2 separate regions of the Homo sapiens genome follow, and region 1 is linked to region 2. Evidence: promoter capture Hi-C in human tissues and cell types (Jung and others, 2019). All regions are on one chromosome and are shown on one strand. Each heading gives the region's core, a stretch centred on a gene start or on the middle of the fragment in contact. The rest is flanking DNA. Distances are from core to core; before and after follow the strand shown. Region 1 has its middle 51 kb from the start of GP2. Region 2 holds the start of UMOD (uromodulin).

Evidence for each region. The method cuts DNA at HindIII sites, captures the fragments that hold promoters and counts their contacts. A contact is called where the count stands out against the background at its distance.
Region 1: a contact is called between a fragment that was not itself captured here and the fragment with the promoter of UMOD in region 2, in 2 of the 25 tissues and cell types used here (esophagus and pancreas).

Annotation. Positions count from the first base shown.
Region 1 is chr16:20,274,205-20,279,408 of GRCh38, reverse strand. No RefSeq gene overlaps it. Among named protein-coding and RNA genes, the nearest start is that of GP2, 51 kb to the left of the region's middle. The HindIII fragment of the contact is 4,833 bases long and covers 21-4,853 here.
Region 2 is chr16:20,351,338-20,356,703 of GRCh38, reverse strand. It overlaps UMOD (uromodulin), which reads left to right and starts at 3,989. Exons shown (of 11, transcript NM_003361.4): 1 at 3,989-4,015. The HindIII fragment of the contact is 15,409 bases long and covers 1-5,366 here.

The sequences.
Region 1 (5,204 bases), core at 1,188-3,687, 76 kb after region 2:
GGTCAAGTGGGCAGATTTTGCAGGAGTTTTTATTGTTCGTTTGTTTGAGGTAACAAGGGTTCTATCTGAGAAAAAGGCTTCACGGCTAGTGTCTGAGCCCTGAGGAGAGGGATGCTGAGGAGTGTCTGTGAGACTTGAGGGGCTCTGACAATACAGCTCTGGGGGCTCTGGGACAAAGTGGGGCACATGCAGGCAGAGAGCAGCATTTGAGTCATTTTGGCACAGCCTGCAGTGTGGCTTCTGCTCAGGAATGACAGTGGGAATGCAGCATTATCCAGTAGGACCAGACTGCAGGCTCTGGGCTAGATGACCTGGATTCAAATCCTGGCTCTGCTTCTTCTAATCAACTTGGGGCAAGTTACTTCATGTGTCTGCCCCTTGGTTTTCTCATCTGTAAAATGGGTATATTAATAGTGATTACCTCCTAAGCTTACTATGAGGGATAAATGAATTATTACATGGAGGGTGCTTTTATGGGTATAGAGAAAGGATCTGCTAAGTGCTGGCTCGTTTTGATGTTGTTGCTGTGTTGCAGATTGCCAGCTTTGAGGAGTACCCATTGACACCACCCTTGACTTCACGCATTTGTCAAGATGGCTCCAGCGGGAGCTGGTGAGACATAGCCACTGAAAAGGGACTTGGAGTATACACACTCTGAGAGGACTATCTGGGAGTTTATGTGAAACTCTATGGGTGAGAATTTGCCTAGTGCAGGGAGAGCCCAAAGACCTTCATTACACAGATGAGATGCCAGTCAGTGAAATAGGTATTACCACTATTAGTATAACCTCCTCAGACTCTCAACTTCAGGGAACTTGAGAAAATACATTACCCCCAAAGAGGCTGAGGGAAACATAATCAAAGAAAATAGTTGAATAGTTTAGCAGCTGAGAGCATAGTCATCTGTACTCCTGGGTTCAAATCCCAAATCTGCCAGTTCAAATCCCAGATCTGCCTAACTGTGTTTGGGGCAAGTTAATTAAATTCTTCTGTGCCTTAGTTTCCCCTACTACAAAATGGAAATAAAAATAATAGCCCATATTTCATAAAGTTGTTGTTGGGCTTTAAAGACATCATTAAAATAAAGCACTTAACATGGCACAGTAGCCAACAAATATTAGCAATCATAATTTTTCTCATGTAATCCAAAGGGGAAAATGACAGATACACCCACAATGCCTTCTTGTTAAAGGAAATAGCTGTGTCCTGCCAATGGAGTAGAGAGTCCTCTCATTCAACCAAAGACAAATTTCACAAACTTACTCCACCCACACTGGTCTCTTTTCAGCTCCTAGAACCTGCCAGGTTATTACCAGTTTGGGTGATCTTGCATATGCTGTTCCATCTTCCAAGAATTCTCTTCCTCCTGCTCCTCCTATGGCCCACTCCTTCTCATTATTCGAGGTTCCGTTCAATGTCAACTTCACAGACCATCTTCCCTGCCCATAGGTGTTGATATAGTTTGGCTGTGTCCCCATCCAAATCTCATCCTGAATTCCTACGTGTTGTGGGAGGGCCCCGGTGGGAGGTAATCGAATCATGGGGGCAGGTTTTTCCCATGCTGATCTTGTGATAGTAAATAAGTCTCATGAGATCTGATGGTTTTAAAAATAGGAGTTTCCCTGCACAAGCTCTCTTTGCCTGTCATCATCCATATAAGATGTGACTTGCTCCTCCTTGCCTTCCACCATGATCGTGAGGCCTCCCCAGACATGTGAAACTGTAAGTCAATTAAACCTCTTTCTTTTGTAAATTGCCCAGTCTTAGGTATGTCTTTATCAGCAGTGTGAAAACAGATTAATACAGGTATCTACAGCAGCATCCCCAAACCCACCCACATGCACACACTATGTGCTATCACATCCCCTACAAATGCCCTTCCTGGAATCCATCACGATCTGAAATGTTCTTTTGTTTTCTTATTTTCTTATTGCGGGCCTTGTTTGCTAGAATTTGCCTTTCATCTGGACAGGAATCTCTTCTATCTTGATTACCATGACACGCCCAGCAGGTTGCACAGTGCCTGCCACATAGTAGATGCTCAATAATTGTCAAACATGAATGAGCTAGAAGCCCGCAACCACTCCTGCACATTTGGAGGCTTTGGGAAGGGGCTGCCTGTTCTCAGATGATGCTACCATTTCCATAAAGCAGAGGTTGGTAAATTCTGGCCTACAAAGGCATCACATGTTTTTTGTTTTTTTTTTTCCAACCCAACCAATTCTCTGACACCAACTCGGTGTCTAACAATTCAATTCTATTTTGACTAACTATTAACTATTCAGAATTAGTGCAGACCCCACAGCTCAAGAGCTTAGTTCCTCAAGACTGCCCCCAGTGCAGACACCAGCCACAAATCGGGTGTCCAAGTTACCTACACTGCTGCCCAGACAACTACAAATTCAGGGGTTCCCACAACCTTCCATCAGGTTCAATAATCATTAGAATGACACAGAACTCAGAAGGGCACTTTATTTACATTTGCTGGTTTATTATAAAGGGTACGTATCAGGAATAAGCAAATGAAAGATTGCACAGGGCAAGGTATGGGAATGATGGGGTGGCATAGAGCTTGCCTGCCTTCCCCAAGTGCACCACCCTCTCAGCACATCAATGTGTCCACCAACCCAGAGGTTCCCTGAATCTCACTGATTAAGAGTTTTTATAACTCAATCTTCAGTCCCCCTCCCCACCCCCAGACATCAGTGAGTAGGGATGAAAGTCTCCCCCAACACAATCACATGTAGTCTTTTTGGTGCCCAGCCCCCATTCTGAAGCTATCTAGGGGCTCCACTCTGAATCATCTCATTAGTATAAACTCAGGCATAGTGGAAAAGGGCCCACTGCCTGTTTGTGTAAATAAAGTTATAGTGAAATATAGCCACACCCATTTGTCTGTACATTGTCTATAGTTGCTTTCATGCTTTAATAAGATTGGCATACTCACTACAGAAATTGCATGGCCTACAAACCTGAAAATATTTACTCTCTGTCCTATTGCAGAAAAGTTCGCTGACTCCTGTCCTAGAAGATGGACCCCCAAGAATGTCTGAACACTAATAGCAGCTGCTGGACAGGTGAGTACCCAGAACAAATCTTGGGAAATGCTTGAGGGAAATGTGGCAGGGATGGAGGCTTCTCCATTGTGCATCTCATGGAGAATCTGAAGACCCCTGGGGACTAAGATCAAGCCAGTGGGCTAGAAGGTCTGCTCAGCCAAAGATGGCTCCGGCCCCCACACTGTACATTCCCTGTCACTTGTTACCCCCACCCCACACATACACTTAAGCATGTGTTTCCATCCCAATGCCTAAAGGATGCTGTTCATTTCCCCCTTCCCATTTGATTCCTACCCATTCTTCAAAGCTTAACCCTGCAATGTAGCGAATAAACAATTTTAAGAAGCTCCAACTATGTCCCAGGTACTGAACTTCTTTCTTCTCATGGAATTTCAGTGCAGAGTGGAAGACGGATTAGAAACCAAGTAACTACAACACTTCCCAGTAAGGGCTACACTAGGAGCATCCTGGGGCCCTGGGAGCACTGAAAAGCAGTACCTACCCCAACTCTGGGGAATCAAGGAAGACTTCCTGGAGGTGGGGAGATCTGAACTAAGTTCTGAAAGGAATGAGCCAAGCAAGCAGATTAGAAGAGGGTGGTAGGAACAGCACGTGCAAGGCCCAGAGTAGGAGAAAGAGCAGAGCTGCAGGAATCAGCAGAGAGGCAGAGTGGAAGCTGCTCAACCACAGGCCTGTTCTGAGCTCATAGGGCTTCTTTCTACAAATGGAGTGATGAGATGTGCAGGAAGAGGATTTTGGGGAAACTGGTAAATGATGTGGTTTCTGTTTGTGTTTCATCAGCTCAATTGTAAGCCCTTCATGGGCAGGGACATTGTTTCATTTTTTGTTTGTTTGTTTGTTTGTTTGTTTTTGAGACAGAGTCTCACTCTGTTGCCCAGACTGGAGTGCAGTGGCGTGATCTTGGCTCACTGCAACCTCCACCTCCCGAGTTCAAGCAATTCTTCTGCCTTGGCCTCCTGAGTAGCTGGGATTACAGGTGTGCGCCACCATGCCTGGCTAATTTTTGTATTTTTAGTAGAGACAGGATTTCACCACATTGGTCAGGCTAGTCTCGAACTCCTGACCTTGTGATCTGCCTACCTCAGCCTCCCAAAGTGCTGGGATTACAGACGTGAGCCACCACACACAGCGACCTTGTTTTGTTGTTGTTGTTGTTTGTTTGTTTTATCTCCATACCATCATCTCTCCACCACAGCACATTCCATCATGCCCAGCATGAAATGAGTGCTAAGCTGGTTTTTGCAGGGCATTGTTTAAAGCTCTGGAAAAAGCTCCAGATTGGGATACTGGTCCTTCCTTGGCCTTTGCTGATTCACTCTGGGACCTTGGCTGAGTCATCACATTGGTGCCCAGATTTTGCTGGAACAACAGAGATCACAGAAGGGATTTTAGAGATGAGGAAATAGAGGTCCAGAGGATGGGAAGGACACAGTTAACATCAAACATTAAGTTAGCAATAGGGTCAGGGCTCAAAACCATTTTTTTTTTCCTGCTCGGTCCAGTGCACCATTCCCATCTGATTTCTCACAGGGCAGATCAATGATGAATTTTGCTGGATAGTTGAACTTCACATCCTCTATCAAGCTTGCAAATTTATTTTCAATGAGCTGGCCAATTCATCTCAAGTCTTGACTCTTTCAAACCAGGGTGGTGGTTAATAATAAAAACTTACAACTATGATATAAAAATATATGTTAATCCCGTATCATAAATGAAGGAACTGGGCCTCCAAACAGCTAAATTTAGTTGTCAGAGTTCACACACCTGGCAAGAAAGTTTCAGAGTTCAGATCCGAACTCAGGTCTTCCTGAATCCAAAACCTGTGCATGCATCTATTTTTTCTGCTAAGTCCAGTGTACGGTTTCCACCTGATTTCTCACAGGGCAGATCAATGATGGATGTTGCTGGGTAGCTGAACTTCACATTCTCTATTGAAGTGGATTCTGGGTAGTACTTAAGAAGCTTTGCCTAGAATACAAGAGTTCTATTGGAAGTTGAGGGTGCCAATTGTGCTCTCAATGGCTGTGGTCTGGGGTGATGGCTCAGCTGTTCTGGAGGCTTGATACCATCTTTGTGTGCTTGGCTAAACCAATAAGAATCTGAAACTCCTCCTTACTTCTCTTC
Region 2 (5,366 bases), core at 2,740-5,239:
TATTTGGGGGTCATTATTCAGCCTACCACAGATTTAACTCATGGATTTGTGTCATTCATTTCAGCCAGGCCTTCTCTTGAGAAAAGAAGGGCAGCATTCTTTTAGAAATTGAGGTCTCTAGAAACCACCTGGGTCTCTCCACTCCTCACCTGTCATGTAAGGCAAAGGCTATTTGTGCTTTCTCATACCTCCAGAGACAGCTCCCATGCCCCTCACCCTGAACCTGGCCTGTCCACAACCAGAGGAAGCAGGGAACAGCCTGCGGCTCTGGAACTCACCTGAGCCGAATTCCCCAACAGGAGCAGGTGTTAGTATTCAGGACACGGTGTAAGGCTCACCTGCCTCGGCCTTGAGGTCATGTGGCTGCCAGTTGAAGGAGGGTTACGGGGGGCTGCCTAGACTAGATCATGTGGCATAGAGCCCCTGACAGGCCACGAGCCAGAGAATGGGTGTGCCACCTCCAGGTCCCCCAGGCGTAACTGGAGCCTCAGGAGGTGTGTGCTCAGAGAGGTAGGTGGGACAGGTAATACCCCTCTTTTGGGGGATCTTCTCCCTTGGCTCATTTTTTGCCGCTTTCTGACACACACCAACCTCTCATTCTAAGTTTTTGTGTTCTGTTTGATCAATTTTTCAAAACTCTCCACCCTTTAGTTTCACTCTTTCCAAAACTACCTAAAACCACTTATCCTTCTAAGACCCTGTCATGGCTGAGCATGGAATGTTCTGTAACCCAAGGAATGCAGGTAAATCTGAGTGAGATTTGAGTTTTAGTCTGGATTTAACACTCGCTAGCTGTGTAATCTTGGGGGAGTTACTCCACCTCTCTGAACTTGTCTTCTTCCCTGTGACGTGGGTTGTTGTGTTTCATTGTTTGAGACAATGGAGGCAAAAGCACTGAGCACAGTGTCTGACCCAAGAGAAGTGCTCAGTGGGTGATTGTTCTCAGCATTATTAAGATCAAGTCTCCTACCCATGTTTGAAAGTTAAGAGAGAAAAGTGTTTCAGGCTGGTTGTGGTGGCTCATGTCTGTAATCCCAGCACTTTGGGAGGCCGAGGCAGGCAGATTACCTGAGGTCAGGAGTTCGAGACCAGCCTGGCCAATGTGTACAAAAAAAACACAAATTAGCCGGGCATGGTGGTATGCACCTGTAATCCCAGCTACTCGGGAGGCTGAGGATTCAAGGATTCAAGAGAATCACTTGAACTTGGGAGGTGGAGGTTGCAGTGAGCCAAGACTGAGCCACTGCACTCCAACCTGGGTGACAGAGCAAGACTCCATTAAAAAAAAAAAAAAGAAGAAGAAAAAGAAAGAAAGAAAGAAGAGTGTTTCAAGAGCGAAGTGCTGAGAGATTAAGGTTCGTTCAAAAACAAATATTTATTGTGCACTGTCCTAGAGGTAAGATAAAGAGAAAAATATTGATTGAATTTGGTAACATGGATGTCTTTGGTGAACTTGATGAGCAACAGAGCAGGAAATTATGGCCACTGACAACTTGTTATACTCACAGATCCCAAGAGAAGGGGACACACCACACTGGGCAGAGGGGCTGAAGGGAGAGGAAGAGCTGCTGGGAAGTACCAGGGTCGGTCAGGAAGCAAAGAGAGCAAGGGAAAAGGCAGGAAAGAGCCTTTATTGTAGTTTCTGCAGGAAGGAATGGGAGAGGCAAGGTAAGCAGATTTAGGATTGGCTTAGTTTGAATAATTTCAGAGACCTCTGGGCCATAGGAGTTGTCTCTAGTTGTCTGGTACCTGGTCCCTTGGGGTGATCTAAAGCAGCAAGTAGTGACCCTAAGTGTAAAAGCCCCAAAAAGGAGGCCAAGGGTTGGGGGTATGTGGTCTGGATTGATTGATTTGCAGTCGGAAAGGCACATTCACAGATAAGTCGTTTTTGATCTCTAGTAATTATTGAGCCCTGGGAGGGGCAGTCCCTCCATGATCAGTAAGGCCCCAAAATGTACAAGCACCAAATACAGAAACTAGAAAGCATGGTGATTACACTTATGAATAGATTCCAACCCAAACTCCCCATTTTCCTGCCCAAGTCTTTGTCAAGAAAACTCCAGAAGCCACCTGGGGTCACTGTCTTTAATCCTTTGAAGACACCCATAATAAGGTTTAGACAAGGCCTCATGAAAAAGGTATAGGATAAAAACGACTAGTTCAGAAAAAAAAAAGTAAATAAATGAAGAGATAACTTCCCTTTTCATCAAAGAATTGCAAAAATGAACAATAATGAGATCGTTTCCACTTATCCTTTTGGCAAAGATGAAAGCAAGTTACCAATGCTCAGAACTGGTGAGTAGTGTTGGTGGGATTGTAAACCAATTTATAATAATTCTCTGGGGTGCTGTTTGGGAAGAGGAGTCAATATTCCTACAGCTGTGCTACCTCTTTGACCCAGAATTTCCACTCCTTGGACATAATCCTGAGGAGATGACAACACCAGTGCCAGTGGTTACCCTACCACTGAGTGGGACAGGATGGAGAAATGTCCTGAAAAGAGCAATTCACAATAGCAAAGACTTGGAACCAACTCAAATGTCCATCAATGATAGACTGGATTAAGAAAATGTGGCACATATACACCGTGGAATACTATGCAGCCATAAAAAATATGAGTTCATGTCCTTTGTAGGGACATGGATGAAGATGGAAACCATCATTCTCAGCAAACTATCGCAAGGACAAAAAACCAAACACCGCATGTTCTCACTCACAGGTGGGAATTGAACAATGAGAGCACTTGGACACAGGAAGGGGAACATCACACCCAGGGGCCTATTGTGGGATGCGGGGAGCGGGGAGGGATAGCATTAGGAGTTATACCTAATGTAAATGACAAGTTAATGGGTGCAGCACATCAACATGGCACATGTATACATATGTAACAAACCTGCACGTTGTGCACTTGTACCCTAAAACTTAAAGTATAAAAAAAAAAAAGATCAATGCAGTGATCATGGTGATATTTTCCTGCTCAGCCCAAGTTCACACATATTTTATTTTTCTCAACATGATGACAGCCACTCTCACACTGACTTTTGGAATGTCATGTATGTTGAACTGGGTCTGAAGACATGGTTTTAACTCAGGCTCTGTCATTTTCTACCTCAGTGATTGCACAACAGCAAAGCAGAATTTTCACTACTTCCATGAATATAATCATTACTATATGACTTTACTTGCATCATCTCCTTTGGTTACTATTACTACTGTGGGAGATGGGTATTCTCATTTTATAGACAAGGAAATTGACCTCTGGACCTCAGGAAGGTTAAGAAATGAGCCCACTGCCACACAATAAACACCAGATAAAGGAGGCAGACTGACTCCAAAGTCAGTCTATTTAAGTGCAAATTTATTTCGCCTCCAAAGGGACCTCCCAGTCATCAGACCTGATTCTTTGTTGTACAGAGTGGGTCAGGTCCAGTGATGTCTGAACTACCTTCTGGTTCTGACTTTCAGCCATTCTCAGCTCCTCTCTTGCTTGTGTCTGGATTCTAAGGCTGATCTCATGAGAATGGGTGTTTCAGAAGGGTGCCCTCTCCAAGACAGGTGCACCTCCCATCTGGGGCAGTGAATATCCCTTTTGTCCTTATGCAGCCTGGCTTCAGATACTGGCTTCTGCCTGGCTCCTTGATCCCACCCTGCCCTTGTCAGTGACCAAGAAGAAGCCCAGCACCTTGGCACTGCTTTCCCAGTTAATTTCTAACTATGGAATCTCTTGCTGTTAGAAGGTGCGAAACAGTGACCTTGTATTTCCGGGCACAGGTGTGACCCCCCAATGTCAATCATTTGGGGTCTCTAGCTATTAGGAAAAAGAACAACAACAACCTCACAGCTTGGACAAGGCAAACATTATGCCAGGAGGAAAAAATATTCCACCCCCAAGAAAACAATATCAAAAAACAGAACTAGAGACTAATTGGAGGAGAGATTGCCAGCCTGGGGCAAATGTGTATATATAAGTATGAGGCACATCATGACCAGACTAACTCTACCTTTCTGGCTTCAGGTAAGGCTATCTGTAGCTGTCTTCTCCTAGCCCAGCTTCTCCCCATCCTATTTGAGGGAGGTAGGAGAGGAAATTAAGACCTTGGACACTGGGGTCAGACCTGGATTTGAGTCATTATTCTGCCAATTATTGGCTTCATGATCTTTAGTAAGTTAGTTTTCCTCTCTTTGATCCTCTCTGTCCTAGTAACAATGACTACTATTTTTTGACTTATTCCATGAATATTAGTTATGCACCTATTATGTGCCAGGTACCAGGGTTACAACAATGAACAACTTGCTATGTGCTGGGCCCTGCTCGACATATGTCATCTTAGTTAATCCCAGTGACAATATGCAGTGTTTTAGGTCGCATCTTATTAGCGGGTCATAAAATCATTCCTTTTGTGGGTTATATCCAGGGACTTCTTTTAATTAAATATAATAGAATATGTCAGTAAGCAATACAAATTTGAGGCAAGCAGTTAGCCTCTTTGTCCCCCTGTTTTCTCATCTGCAAACTAGGATAATACTTATCTCATAGGGTTGTGGTAAGAATTAAATCACTTAATGTAGTAAGGATATCAATTGTCTTATAAAATTTTATGTGTGTGTGCACATACATGCAGAAGCGACTGCACTAGATCATGACATAAAATGTTTTTCTTTCTTTCTGTCTTTTTTTTTTTGGGGGGGGGGGATGGACTCTCTGTCACCCAGGCAGGAGTGCAGTGGCACGATCTCAGCTCACTGCAACCTCTGCCTCCCAGGTTCAAGCAATCCTCCTGTCTCAGCCTCCCGAGTAGCTGGGATTACAGGCGCCCACCACCATGCCCGGCTAATTTTTGTATTTTTATTAGAGATGGGGTTTCACCATGCTGGCCAGGCTGGTCTCAAACTCCTGACCTTGTGATCCACCCCCTCAGTCTCCCAAAGTGTTGGGATTACAGGCATGAGCCACTGCACCTGGCAACATAAAATGTTTTTCTTTTAGTACATCATGGTCACGAAGATCTGGAAAACGTTGCTCTAGGACCCAATGCCTTTGAGCACATGAATGTCTTTGAACTGAGCCTGGCCCATCATAGATATTCAGTTTGTGAAAGCAACAATCTCCATTTCACAGACAAAAACGGAGACTTAGTAAACTGAAATACCCACATCACAGTGTTAGTGATCAGTAAAGCAGGGATTTGAACCTCAGGTGCAGGCTGCAGCTCCTACATACTTAACCAACATGCCACCCTATTTTGCTGCTATAAACACTGGGGTAATACTGGCATCCACCCTGGACTATTTTTCCAATTGGAAGAAATAGTAAGTGACCACTCCAGAAACATTTAAATGCATTGTGAAGGTTAATTACCTCTCAA